2 separate regions of the Homo sapiens genome follow, and region 1 is linked to region 2. The links are contacts of gene promoters, found by promoter capture Hi-C in human tissues and cell types (Jung and others, 2019). All regions are on one chromosome and are shown on one strand. Each heading gives the region's core, a stretch centred on a gene start or on the middle of the fragment in contact. The rest is flanking DNA. Distances are from core to core; before and after follow the strand shown. Region 1 has its middle 95 kb from the start of KCNJ6. Region 2 holds the start of DSCR4 (Down syndrome critical region 4).

Region 1 (5,818 bases), core at 1,197-3,696, 110 kb before region 2:
GAAGGTATTCTAACTGTGGTGGTGGTTGCATAACTTTGTAAATGCACTAAAAAAAACTGACTTGTACATTTTAAATGGGTGAGTTATAGGATATGTGAATTAATTATATTTTCATAAAGCTGTTTAAAAAGACCACTCTGGCTGCTCTATAAAGAATCTTGTACAGGACTTACAAGCAGGGGGGGCAGGATCTTACTGAAGAGGCTGCTGCATTAATGCAGGATGGTGGCGGTGGAAGTGAGAGAAGTGGTCAGATTCTGGCTGTTTTAACAGTGGAGCCGGAAGGCTTTGCCGGTGGGCTGGATGTGGGGTGTGAAGGAGATGGCTGCCTTATTGTTCCATTGGGAAGCCTGCATTGAGGCAGAGAGGAGCCAGAGATCTGGAGTGAATCCATAAATGAACAAATTTATGGCCCTCCTCTATGGAGAAGGCAGTATGCTCCAGGAGGTAAAAGGAGACAGACTCCAGTCCTTGCCTCAAGAAAGTTACACTCTGTAGATTTCAGCACAGTAACACAAAAAAGTTAAACGAGTATGACATTGTGATAAGTGTTTCAGACAACACCAGAAGAGATATTGCAGGAACATAAACTAGTGGTTGCCATAGGAATTCGAATATATGACTCTTGGCTGGAATAGCCCCAGAGCGGAGGGCTGAATGGAGGACGATAATGGCACACAGAGATGAGGGAGGGAGCCACAGGAAAACTGCATTTCAGGAGTCGGGAAGTAGACCACTTTGGCTGAAATCAATTTCATGTGGAGATGCCAAGGGAGATAAGGTTGAGAAAAGCAGAAAACAATTCCCTTTTAAAACACAGAGAATACTTGTTCATCACTTGACTGATCACAAGAATGAGCTGAGCAATTTTGTTATAGATCATAAACCAATTGCCCGCTTGCACAAGATTTAATACGAGGAAGACCTACTGGCTTTCTCTGATGATGAGATGATAAACAATAGACATGACAGATTGCCTAGAAAATGAGACATAATAATGAGAGTCAAACGCTGTTATTAAATCCGTGTGAAGGGGGAATCAGGAGGATAAGAAACCACTGTTAATGATGGTGAGAAAGCTGTGATCCAAAATGGCCTGAGGGGATTTTTGTTTTCACATGTGTGAATTCAATAAATTATGAGACTGTCAAATAGGTCCATTAAAACCATTAAGTATACTCAAGCTACATATGAAACTACGTGCTCTTCTTTCAGAAAAAGCAAACAAGATGGCCTTGTGATTTTTTAATGAATAATAGACATTCATTTAGATTTTTTTTTCCTCTTGTGATAGATATTCCATGCTCAGGTACTGGCAATGATCATTATAGCCCAGATGTTAGGAGCTCATGTCTTAGAATGAGGATGTCTCTGTTCAAATTCCAGCTTCTTGTTTTACTGCCATTTAATCTCTCCGTGCCTCAGTTTCTTCATTTGTAAAATGAGGATGATGTTGACAGCAATACTCACTTTATGGGGTTGCTGGGAGGTACCATTTGTACAGCACTTGGAGTAGTTAGCTCCTGCCGTTTATCAACACTCCAAAAATGTTAGCTGTGAACTGAAAGCCTGCTTTTCTACCTATTCATCACTTTCTGCCCACTTTTGTTGTAGCTAAGCAGTGTGTTTCTTCCTTATTACAAATGTCCTTGCACCTCTTGTTGATGGAGCACCAGTTTTTCTAGAATGAGGGGCTGCTTTTCATTTCCAGCAGCACAATCAGTGGCTGGAAAAGGGAGAGAGAAACCCCAGACAAAACCCACCTGATGCATCACAGATGCTGCAGACCGAGGCCTGGAGAAAAAAAGGGGGACTTGATTCCCTTTGATATTGGGAGAAGTCTGTTTCCCAAGCTGTGGCCACTGAAATGAAACTGCTGAGATCCCCATACCTAAGAAGGAACTTTTGGACACAGGAAGGGGAACATCACACACCGGGGACTGTTGTGGGGTGGGGGGAGAGGGGAGGGATAGCATTAGGAGATATACCTAATGCTAAATGACGAGTTAATGGGTGCAGCACACCAACATGGCACATGTATACATATGTAACAAACCTGCACGTTGTGCACACATACCCTAAAACTTAAAGTATAATAATAATAAAATTAAAAAAAAAAGAAGAAGGAACTTTTGGACAATAGGCGTTCTTCCATTATAGGATGAAAGGGTAGGTGGGGCTGGAAGTATACTCAGCAGTGGACACTCTTTTCCCCACAAGGAGCTTTTTTACTTTTAAAAACTAAAACTGAAATGAATTGTTATAAAATATCACATCATATTAAAATATAAAATATTTTATATTGAAACATATATTCAATATATCTTGGCACTCTGTATATGAAATATTATATCATACCTGATGATATCATAAAATATCATTTTAAATTATATTAATACAAGTTTGTTTTATAAAACCTAAAAAATAACCAAGAAATAAAGCAGGGAAAAAAACCTTGATGACTGCTTCTCAGAAGCTTGCTTATACGATTTCCCCTTTTGAAAATTAAGTTTTTTTTCAGAATACTCTGTTTTCTTAGTTATCAATGTGTGAGTACAGGTCAAATGACTTATAATGAAAATTGTTAATATGGAAAGTTTTGTATTTCCTTAGGCTGAGTTTTTTTAATAAATAAACTTAAAATTTGGAAGAGTTCTAGATTTACGGAAAAGTTGCAAAGAGAGTGTTGAGAGCTCCCCTTGGATCTCCCTCACCCAGGTTCTGTTCCCTTAATGTGACCGTCTTATGTCACCACAGGGCACTCGTTGAATCTGAGAAACCAAGCTTGTTGAAACTAAACTAAATGGGCTTCAGATATAGGTTTACCTTTGGATCACTGCAATTATCTCCCTCCTCACCCATCTTTCAGATTAGTAATTTTTTTTTTTTTTTTAGATGAAGTCTTGCTCTGTCGCCCAGGCTGGAGTGCAGTGGCATGATCTCGGCTCACTGCAACCTCTGCCTCCCGGGTTCAAGCGATTCTCCTGCCTCAGCCTCCTGAGTAGCTGGGATTACAGGCGCCTGCCATCATGCCCAGCTAATTTTTGTATTTTTAGTAGAGACAGGGTTTCACCATGTTGGCTAGGCTCGTCTCAAACTCCTGACCTCAGGTGATCTGCTTGCCTCGGCCTCCCAAAGTGCAGATTAGTAGTTTTTTTTTTTCTTTTTTTGAGATGGAGTCTCGCTCTGTCACCCAGGCTGGAGTCCAGTGGCGCCATCTCGGCTCACTGCAAGCTCCGCCTCCCGGGTTCATGCCCTTCTCCCGCCTCAGCCTGCCGAGTGGCTGGATTTACAGGCGCCCGCCACCACACCCGGCTAATTTTTTGTATTTTTAGTAGAGACGGGGTTTCACCGTGTTAGCCAGGATGGTCTGGACAGATTAGTAGTTTTTAAAGGTCTTATATCTCTCATTCTTGAATACAATATAATTACCTAATTTAAATCACTTGTTTCAAATTTCTGGAACTCATTTTCGCTGCGAAAGAATACTAGCCATGATTATCAAATATGTGCTTTTATCTGTGGTAGTTTAAGCAGAATAACTAAGCAACAATACAATAGGCCCTCCTCCTGGGGTTACTGTGTAATCCACATATTGAGGTGCCCAACAAAACAGAGTCCTTAAATGTCTTACAGTTATGGTTCTTTCTTTATTCTACATTTTTTAAAACGATGAAGAAGGAAGGCTGTATCAGAGTCCTGGTAGAAAACATGACACACTCAAGTGAAGCAACCGAGGACACGTTAAGACATTTATTCACAGAGCTACGGGCAAGTGGAAGGAGACTCTTGGGGTAGTGCAGTACTTTGGAGCTAGCAAGAGTGGGGAGCTGTTAGGATTCCTAGGCTTGGGAGGAGCAACTGCAAAAAATGATGGCAACATATATGCAAACAGACATCAACAGTTAGGTATGTATTCTCAAACAGACTTCAAAAGTAATTTAACACAATTGTTCGTGTGTCCTTCAGTCTAGACACTGTTATTCACATCAGCTGTGCAGGACTGAACAAAGAGAGAAATCAGAACTTCTGGCAAAATAAAGGGATAACATGTCTCGTTCAACTTGAGAGTCACAATTCCCCTGCTGTTTCTGGTAAATGCTATGCCTCATGGAAGCTGGTCAGAGCTTTGTCAGGCTTTCTAGAATTAGTATAGTCAGCATCTTTGCTGCAGAATAAGCTGTCCCTGCTTCATTATGCAAGCTGCACTGTGAATGTTTGCTGTGACGCTGCCGTCCTCAGTGCCTGATGCTGGTTTTGCATTTGAGTTTCATTCTTTTTCTGTATTCATGCGGTTGGGAGTTGTTTCCTGCATAACAGCACCATTAACAGCTACACCTCATTTTCTATCAATTCCTTAAGATTTGGATGGAAGAAATTCCTAAATCACATTCCTTGTCAGACAGTTTGCATGTCAGTTTAAGGTCATTAAATCCACCATGATTTCTGAAATTTCTCTTTTGCTCTTCAGTTTGTGAACATGGATTTGTAAGTCACCATTCCAACCAGGATGCATACACTGAAATGCATATCCAGATTAATAACAGGCTAGGAAGAATAATGAGTTCTCTCTCTCTTCATTCATTCACACATTTGTGTTTAGACAAAGACATTTTGGACCAAATCATCTATAACTGACTGAAACTCCGTTTTGATTGTCTTAATAAGAAATGAATTTGTAGAACATTTTAAGGGCTTTATTAATAGGTTATAAGTTTACGATAAAAGCAAAATAACTTAAAATTTTTTAAAAGGTTGAAAAAGAATGTATTACTAGGCTTATAGGTTAGATAAATATGAAAATATGAAAAATTTGAAGAGATCATATTCAAAATAAATTAAGAAACCAATTTTTATGTTAAATGATTAATAAATGAGTTGGTGTCTGTATGGGGGAGTTTTCTTTTGGTGTGCAATAGCGCTTGTCTTCAATATTATCAACAAATACTCTGGAAACAGGTATCAGTGACACCCAAAATATTACCAGCAGCAATAGTAAACATAAGTGACAGTGAGTAAGTGCTAACCATGCCCCAGCTGTGTGCAGAGGACTCTGTAGGATGATCTCACTTAATACCCACAGAACATAGGTCTTGTAATGAACCTATTATTATCCAAGGGAATGGAGGCAAAGAACGGAAGTATACCCAAGATGGCAAAGGGTTGGAGCAAAAATCTGGACCCAGTTTTTCTGATTCCATTGCCCAGGCTCCTAACCACAAGACTCTGCTCTTGCCCAGTGATTCAAATTCGTGCTTGCTTTGCAGCTGGGATCGAGGCAGGGGATGTCTGTGAGAATCTGGGCCACCCTGAATGAGAACAGGAATCCTTCAAAATGAAACTTATCATGATTCACTACTTCATGAAGCTGCCCTGGCATCCTAAAACTCTCCTCGCAAATATAGAGAAGTGAGAAGTTTTTCAGCAATGACATCTACAAAAAAGACTAGAGGGTCTAATGATTAACATTTTTGAAATGAGTTCATTGTATGATTTGGCTGCTATAAGTGCTAGACAGCATATGGGAATGTGTTTTATAAGCCATAAGTCACTACAAAATGTCACATGTACGTATATGCTGTAATGATAGGTGTTGATTCTGCTATAAAGCTAGGGACCACATGTGGGAAAGTGTTCTGTAAATCATAAATTACTATACAATGTCAAATATGTATATGCATGTGCCATTGATAGATATTGACTCTCAGAAGAAGGAAATGAAGCATGTCTTCTTGGGAAGGGAGGTTGGAGGGATTGATTGTCTCCTCTATGAGTCATCATCCCTATTTGTTTCTGAAAGATTTGGCGTGGTCTGTCT
Region 2 (6,186 bases), core at 3,081-5,580:
AATTCATTTATAGGATTAACACAATTGCACTTAAACTTCCACTGAGATTTATTATTAAATGTGTTCAAGTAAAACTAAGATTCATCTAGAAGAATGAATTTATAAGTAGAGCTCAGAAAAAATTTTTTAAATGCAAAACAGAAAAGATTAACCAGTGAGATTTGCCCTGTTATATATAGAAACATAACACTAATATAGACAAAATATGTGGTTTTGGCACAAGAATAGATTATTGGAACAATGAAATGAAACAGAAACTCTGGGAAAAGAATACCTACATTAATATAATGAAGTAAACCCAGACATGTATTCTGACACATTACCCCCAAAGAAATACCAGGTGGATTAAATATTTAAATGTCAAAAATAAGCCACCATAAAAATCTTAGAAGAATATGCAGCAGAATATTTGTGTATCTCACAGTGAAAAGAGGGTTTTACAAGTATAAAGGTAATACAAAATAGAACAGAAAATTGATATGACAACATGAAAGAAAACCTTTTATATTTCAAAAGTCAGCTTTCAGTTTTTCCCAGTAACAGCCATTGTTTATAACCTTGGGGTCTAAGTTTCCAGGCTTGTATTGGAACAGGATTAGAAAAGGAATTATACTATACATTGGGTGACTGTGTCATCACCCTCTAGGATGATTTCTTCTTGGAATGAGACTTAAGATACCATAGTTCTACTTTCATTGTGCATTGATACATTAAGTCATTTATAACATTTCCCAAAACTCCAATCTGGAGAACTTTCTCTATCACCAGGGCATTGCTTTGGAATTCAGGGAGGCCTGAGTTCTGGATGGGAATGGGAGTGAGATGGTCCAGTGAATGTTAACAGTCACTATTATTATCCTTATTTTACAGAGGAGGAATATTCTGCTCCTTTATGAGCCAACATTTACTTTCTCTGAATTAAATGTTACTGGTTTCTTATTTATAGACAGCAGAGATTGACTGGGCACACTTTCCCCCACAGTTTCCAAGACTCTGTAATTATATGCAAAATAGTAAAATTAAATTCAATCTAGATGAATCCATATTTCAATAAGGATATTAGTGACTTAGGTCTAAAAATTAAAATTAGACTCGTCAATCCTGTTATGCTTTCCATTCAAATGTTTTTCCTAAACAGCAACAACAACAAAAACCTGATTTCCTAATAGTCCATTTAGCTTTTATTTCATGCCATTTACAAAGTTTAGGCAACATAAATGCACTTTATGCATATCTCTGTCCCATATCTCAGTCTAGATAGTTGTCTAGATAATTTTCTAGACAACCTAGATAATCAATGGGAAGGCTGAATGGCAGAGCAGAAAAACCATGTCTTCAGGGTCTGAACTATTGAGAGTAAGTATCATCTCCACCACTTAACAACTGTACAACTCTGGGAAGATGTGCTGGGCAAGCCCTTTCAGTCTTGTTGGCTTACCCAGTAGTCAGGATTTGTTGCAAGAATACAGTGCCAGCTGTGTTCCAGCCACTGCTCTCAGGGTACTGTTCCCTTTCCCTTTATATGTTCTGATATTTCTCCCATAGCTACCAACCAGCCCATTCTTCCAGTCTTTCTCTGTTCAGATGCTAATGGGAGAGAGTTGATGGTCTTAGATAGTCACCATAATCCCTTTAGAGCAGAGATTTGTTGTAGAAGCCAGGCCACTTTGAAGGACACAGGCTGCCTGATATTCTGGCTGCCCTTGGGTCAGATCTCATCCCTGGCCAAAGTGGTGCCACCACTTTCTCAATGATTGCTTATTTCTCCCTCCTTCAACATGCTTTAGAAGGCAGCGTTTCCCTTAGAGGAGCACAGTGGGCTGGGCAGCAACAGTGGATGACGTGCGTATTACGGCACTGCTGGGTATCATCATAACCAACATGAACTTGTGGCTTGTTCTTACAATGCGCCAGACGTCTCATGAAACATTCAACGTTTCTTAATTCACCCTCACAACCAGAATGAGGTAAGTGTTGTTCTTATTCTTATTATTTGATATTTTATAGATAAAGAGAAGCTTACAGCATGAAATAACTTTCTCAAAATGATAAGATCAGTAAGCGGAATATTCTTTTTTGTTTTTTTTTTTGAGACGGTGTCTCGCTCTGTTGCCCAGGCTGGGGTGCAGTGGCCCGATCTCGGCTCACTGCAAGATCTGCCTCCCGGGTTCACGCCATTCTCCTGCCTCAGCCTCCCCAGTAGCTGGAACTACAGGCACCTGCCACCACTCCCGGCTAATTTTTTGTATTTTTAGTAGAGATGGGATTTCACCGTGTTAGCCAGGATGATCTGGATTTCCTGACCTCGTGATCCGCCCGCCTCGGCCTCCCAAAGTGCTGAGATTACAGGTGTGAGCCACCCTGCCCGGCCAGTAAGCGGAATATTCAATTGGATTCCAGAGTTTATGCTTTTAGCTATCAAGCTATACTCTTTCTCACTATATTTCCCTGAGCTTTGGTTTCCTTATCTATAAAACTGGAACCGCACTGCCTGTTTGCCTTTAGAGCTATAGGTAATAAATGTTATGCATTTATTATGGTAAATAACATGTAGTAGAGCAAAGCATGGAAATTCAGGAAGTAACAAAGAGCAGTCATAAGAATGTCTATGTGGTAAATCTAGATAAAAATTACTTGTATACACATTTACAGTAGCGCCTTTAAAACACACACCGATAGCACTTTAGTAAGTCAAGAATGCATGTTGCACCAATTAGAGAAAACACCAATTTTTTAAAAAAACATATAAATAACAAGCTAATAGAAGAAGAAATGTAATTAGAAAAATTTAAATAAGCCCAAAAACTTTAAGGAAGGACAAAAAAAATCATAGAACAGAGAAAATAGGAATCAATGGTAAGATGGTAGATTTAACCTTGAATTACAGTAAATATAAACAGACTAAATATTGAAATTGAAATATAAAGCTCATCAGAGAAGGTAATAATATCAAGCAAAGCTAAACAAGCTGCTTACTTTAAATATAAAGATATCGACAGGTTGAAAGTAAGTAAGGGATGGTAAAACTACTATGCAAAGCAAAAGTTACAAAACCAAAGCAAAGACTGGCTCGTTTCAGAATAATCAACGTTTCAGGTTTAATATGAAATAATCGTAAATTTGTTTATACCTAATAACATAGCCATAAAATAAAAATTGACAGATAAACAATCATGTTAAGAGCCTGTATAAGCCAGATTTCTCCAGAAAAACAGAATCAAAAGGATATATACATTAAGAATTATATTAAGAAATTTATTTTAGCATATTGGCTTACATGATTGTGGGGCTGGCAAGTCCAGAATCCGTAGGAGAAGCTGGCAGGCTGAAACTCAGGCAGGAAACGATGTTGCAGACTTTAGGCAGAATTTTTTCTTCTCTAGGAAAATTCAGTTTTTGCTCTTAAGGCTTCTGATTGTATAAGGCCCATTCACAGTATGAAAAGTAAGATTTATGTAAAGCCAACTGATTGTAGATGTTAACTACATCTACAAAATACCTTTGCAGCACTACCTAGATTAGTGTTTGATTAAATAAATGGGCAGTAAAGGCCGGGTGCAGTGGCTCACGCCTGTAATCCCAGCACTTTGGGAGGCCGAGGCAGGAAGATCACTTGAGGTCAGGAGTTCAAGACCAGCCTGGCCAACATGGTGAAACCCCATCCGTACTAAAAATACAAAAATTAGCCTGGCTTGGTGGCGGGCACCTGTAATCCCAGCTACTTGGGAGGCTGAAGCAGGAGAATCACTTGAACCCAGGAGGTTGTAGTGAACCGAGATCGCGCCACTGCATTCCAGTCTGGGTGACAAGAGCAAAACTCTGTCTCACCACAAAAAAAAAAAAAAAAAAAAAAAAAAAAAGGCACTAAAGCCTGGCCCCCATGATGACACAGGAAACTAATCGTCATGGAGACTTTATCCACACTTTTGAATATATGTTACATTTCAACATTAAAACACACACACACACACAAAATCATAAAGCAATCAACAAAATTAAGCTGAATGCTTCGTAATTGCTGGATTCCCTGGGAAGCTGACTCTGAGATGGAGATTAGCGTGCAGGACATTTCTTACGGGTTGTTCTTGGGATCAATACCTGTGGAGAGGAGAAGCTGAGGCAGGATCAGGAAGCGGGGAAGTAGAGTGCAATGCTGGTGAAGCGGCATCACTGTCTGGGGTAAATATCCGGGGTTCATCATCTCTCGTCAAGATGATTAACGACATGGACACACATGGGTGAGTTAAGAAGCGGAAAGTTTAATAGGCGGAAGAAAAGAGTGAGGAGACCAGCTCTCAGACATCCTTAAGGGAAAGGCTGGCCCGTGACTGACGGCAGCAGGTTTTACGGGCAGGCTTGAGGAGGCGGTGTCTGATTTACGTGGAGCCCAGAGATTGGTTCGACCAGGGGTGACGTTTACGTAGCGCGCAGGGAAGGCTGGTCACCCCACCCTAATCTTGTTATGCAAATAGGCTTCCCACTTGGCAGGGGCCGTCTTGTCCACTCGTTTCTGTAAACATGGGTGGCAAAAAGAGAAGATGGAGCTGCCATTTAGAACATGCCTAATCCCAGGTAGTGTTTTTTGTTGTTGTTGTTGCTGCTGTTGTCGCTTTTTGAGTCGGAGTTTCGCTCTTGTTGCCCAGGCTGGAGTGCAATGGCGCCATCTTGGCTCACCACAGCCTCCGCCTCCTAAGTTCAGGCGATTCTCCTGCCTCAGCCTCCTGAGTAGCTGGGATTACAGGCGTGAGCCACAGCGCCGGCCCCAGGTAGTATATTTTTATTGGCACAACTGCCGGTATTTGCCTGTGCAAGCTTTCAGCTTGCTTGTCTGTGTCTGCAGCTCGATTTTCCAGGTTGCTTTTTGTTAGAAAAGAAAATGATTTGGGGGCTGCTTTTCATTAAAAGGAAGACCTTACTGAGGACTCCCATACCTTCACTATCTGCCTAAGTACTTTCTTCTTAACTCCTATATCACTGGGTCAGCAGCAACCCCAGTCAAACCTCAAGGGAGACGGGAAGATGGGACGATCTGTCAGAGGTATGCTGAGTTGAGGCAAGAGAGCTGACCTTTATGGATTGCCAATCAGTGACTCATTGGAAGTGGGGCAACCTGGAAGGAAATGTGGCCTTAGGTGAGGCAGCTGTCTTCAGAGGAGGCAATTTCTTTGTATCTGGAGGGGCAATTGTTAGTGTTCCCCTGGACTGAAGGGTGAATTATGGAGAATGGAATAGAACGATTTGTTACTATGATTTGGTTGATGACTTATTTCCTGTTTCCTTAGCTTCATCTTGCTGAGCAAAAATGAAGGAGCCTGGACCCAACTTTGTTACTGTGAGAAAGGGTCTTCATTCATTCAAGATGGCATTTGTTAAGCACCTACTGTGAGTAGATGATCTCCTGTCAAAGACAGTTAACAAATCCTCGGAATATTGCTTCATGTACAGTTATTGGAGATGAGTAACTTACATTCTCTTAATTGTAATGGTTCCTTGGAAAGTCATCGTGGAAAATGAAGGCTGGCTCATACATTTTCCCAGACAGGAATTTGGCTGCCAACAGGGAATTCTAAACAACTAAAAACTCCAGATGATGAATGCACAACATAATGATGGTTAAATTAAAAAAAAAAAAGAGCACGGTAATAAAATTTCCATGAAATATTTTGTGTAAGCGCAGATAATCAGTCATTTTCTTTATAGAATTCTTATTCGTAAATAATTTAGAATACTTTGTTCTTTATAATATATGATGGGCAACTATAGTATGATTCTTCTGAGTGACTCAGTTCTTTTTTTTTTTTCACATTTAATGACTTTGTTTCTCCTAAGTGAATGCACAGATAGTATATTAATCAGGGTTCTCTGGAAAAACCAGAACCAATTTATTATCAGGTACTGGTTCATGTGATTGTGGAGGCTGAGAAGCCCCATGATCTGCTCTCTGCAAGCTGGAGACCCAGGAAAGCTGATGAAAGTCAAAGGCCTAAGAGCTGGAGGGCCGATGGTATAGATTGCAGCCCAGGTCTAAAGGCCTGAGAACCAGAAGCACAGAGGGCAGAAGATCAATATTCCAGCTCAATCAGGCAAAGAGAAAAAGTCCTCCCTTCCTCTCCGTTTTTCTTCTATTCTGACCCTGGATGGACTGGATGAGGCCCAGCCACATTGAGGAGAGCCATCTGCTTTAAT

The links. Contacts are between HindIII fragments. The study calls those that stand out against the background at their distance.
Region 1: a fragment that was not itself captured here is called in contact with the fragment with the promoter of DSCR4 in region 2 in 2 of the 25 tissues and cell types used here (aorta and heart left ventricle).

What each region holds. Positions count from the first base shown.
Region 1 is chr21:38,008,715-38,014,532 of GRCh38, forward strand. No RefSeq gene overlaps it. Among named protein-coding and RNA genes, the nearest start is that of KCNJ6, 95 kb to the left of the region's middle. The HindIII fragment of the contact is 5,050 bases long and covers 1-4,971 here.
Region 2 is chr21:38,117,030-38,123,215 of GRCh38, forward strand. It overlaps DSCR4 (Down syndrome critical region 4), which reads right to left and starts at 4,331. Exons shown (of 3, transcript NR_147130.1): 1 at 4,099-4,331; 2 at 3,278-3,379. DSCR8 (Down syndrome critical region 8) reads left to right here and starts at 4,422. Exons shown (of 3, transcript NR_026842.1): 1 at 4,422-4,572; 2 at 5,283-5,382. The HindIII fragment of the contact is 7,375 bases long and covers 1-5,914 here.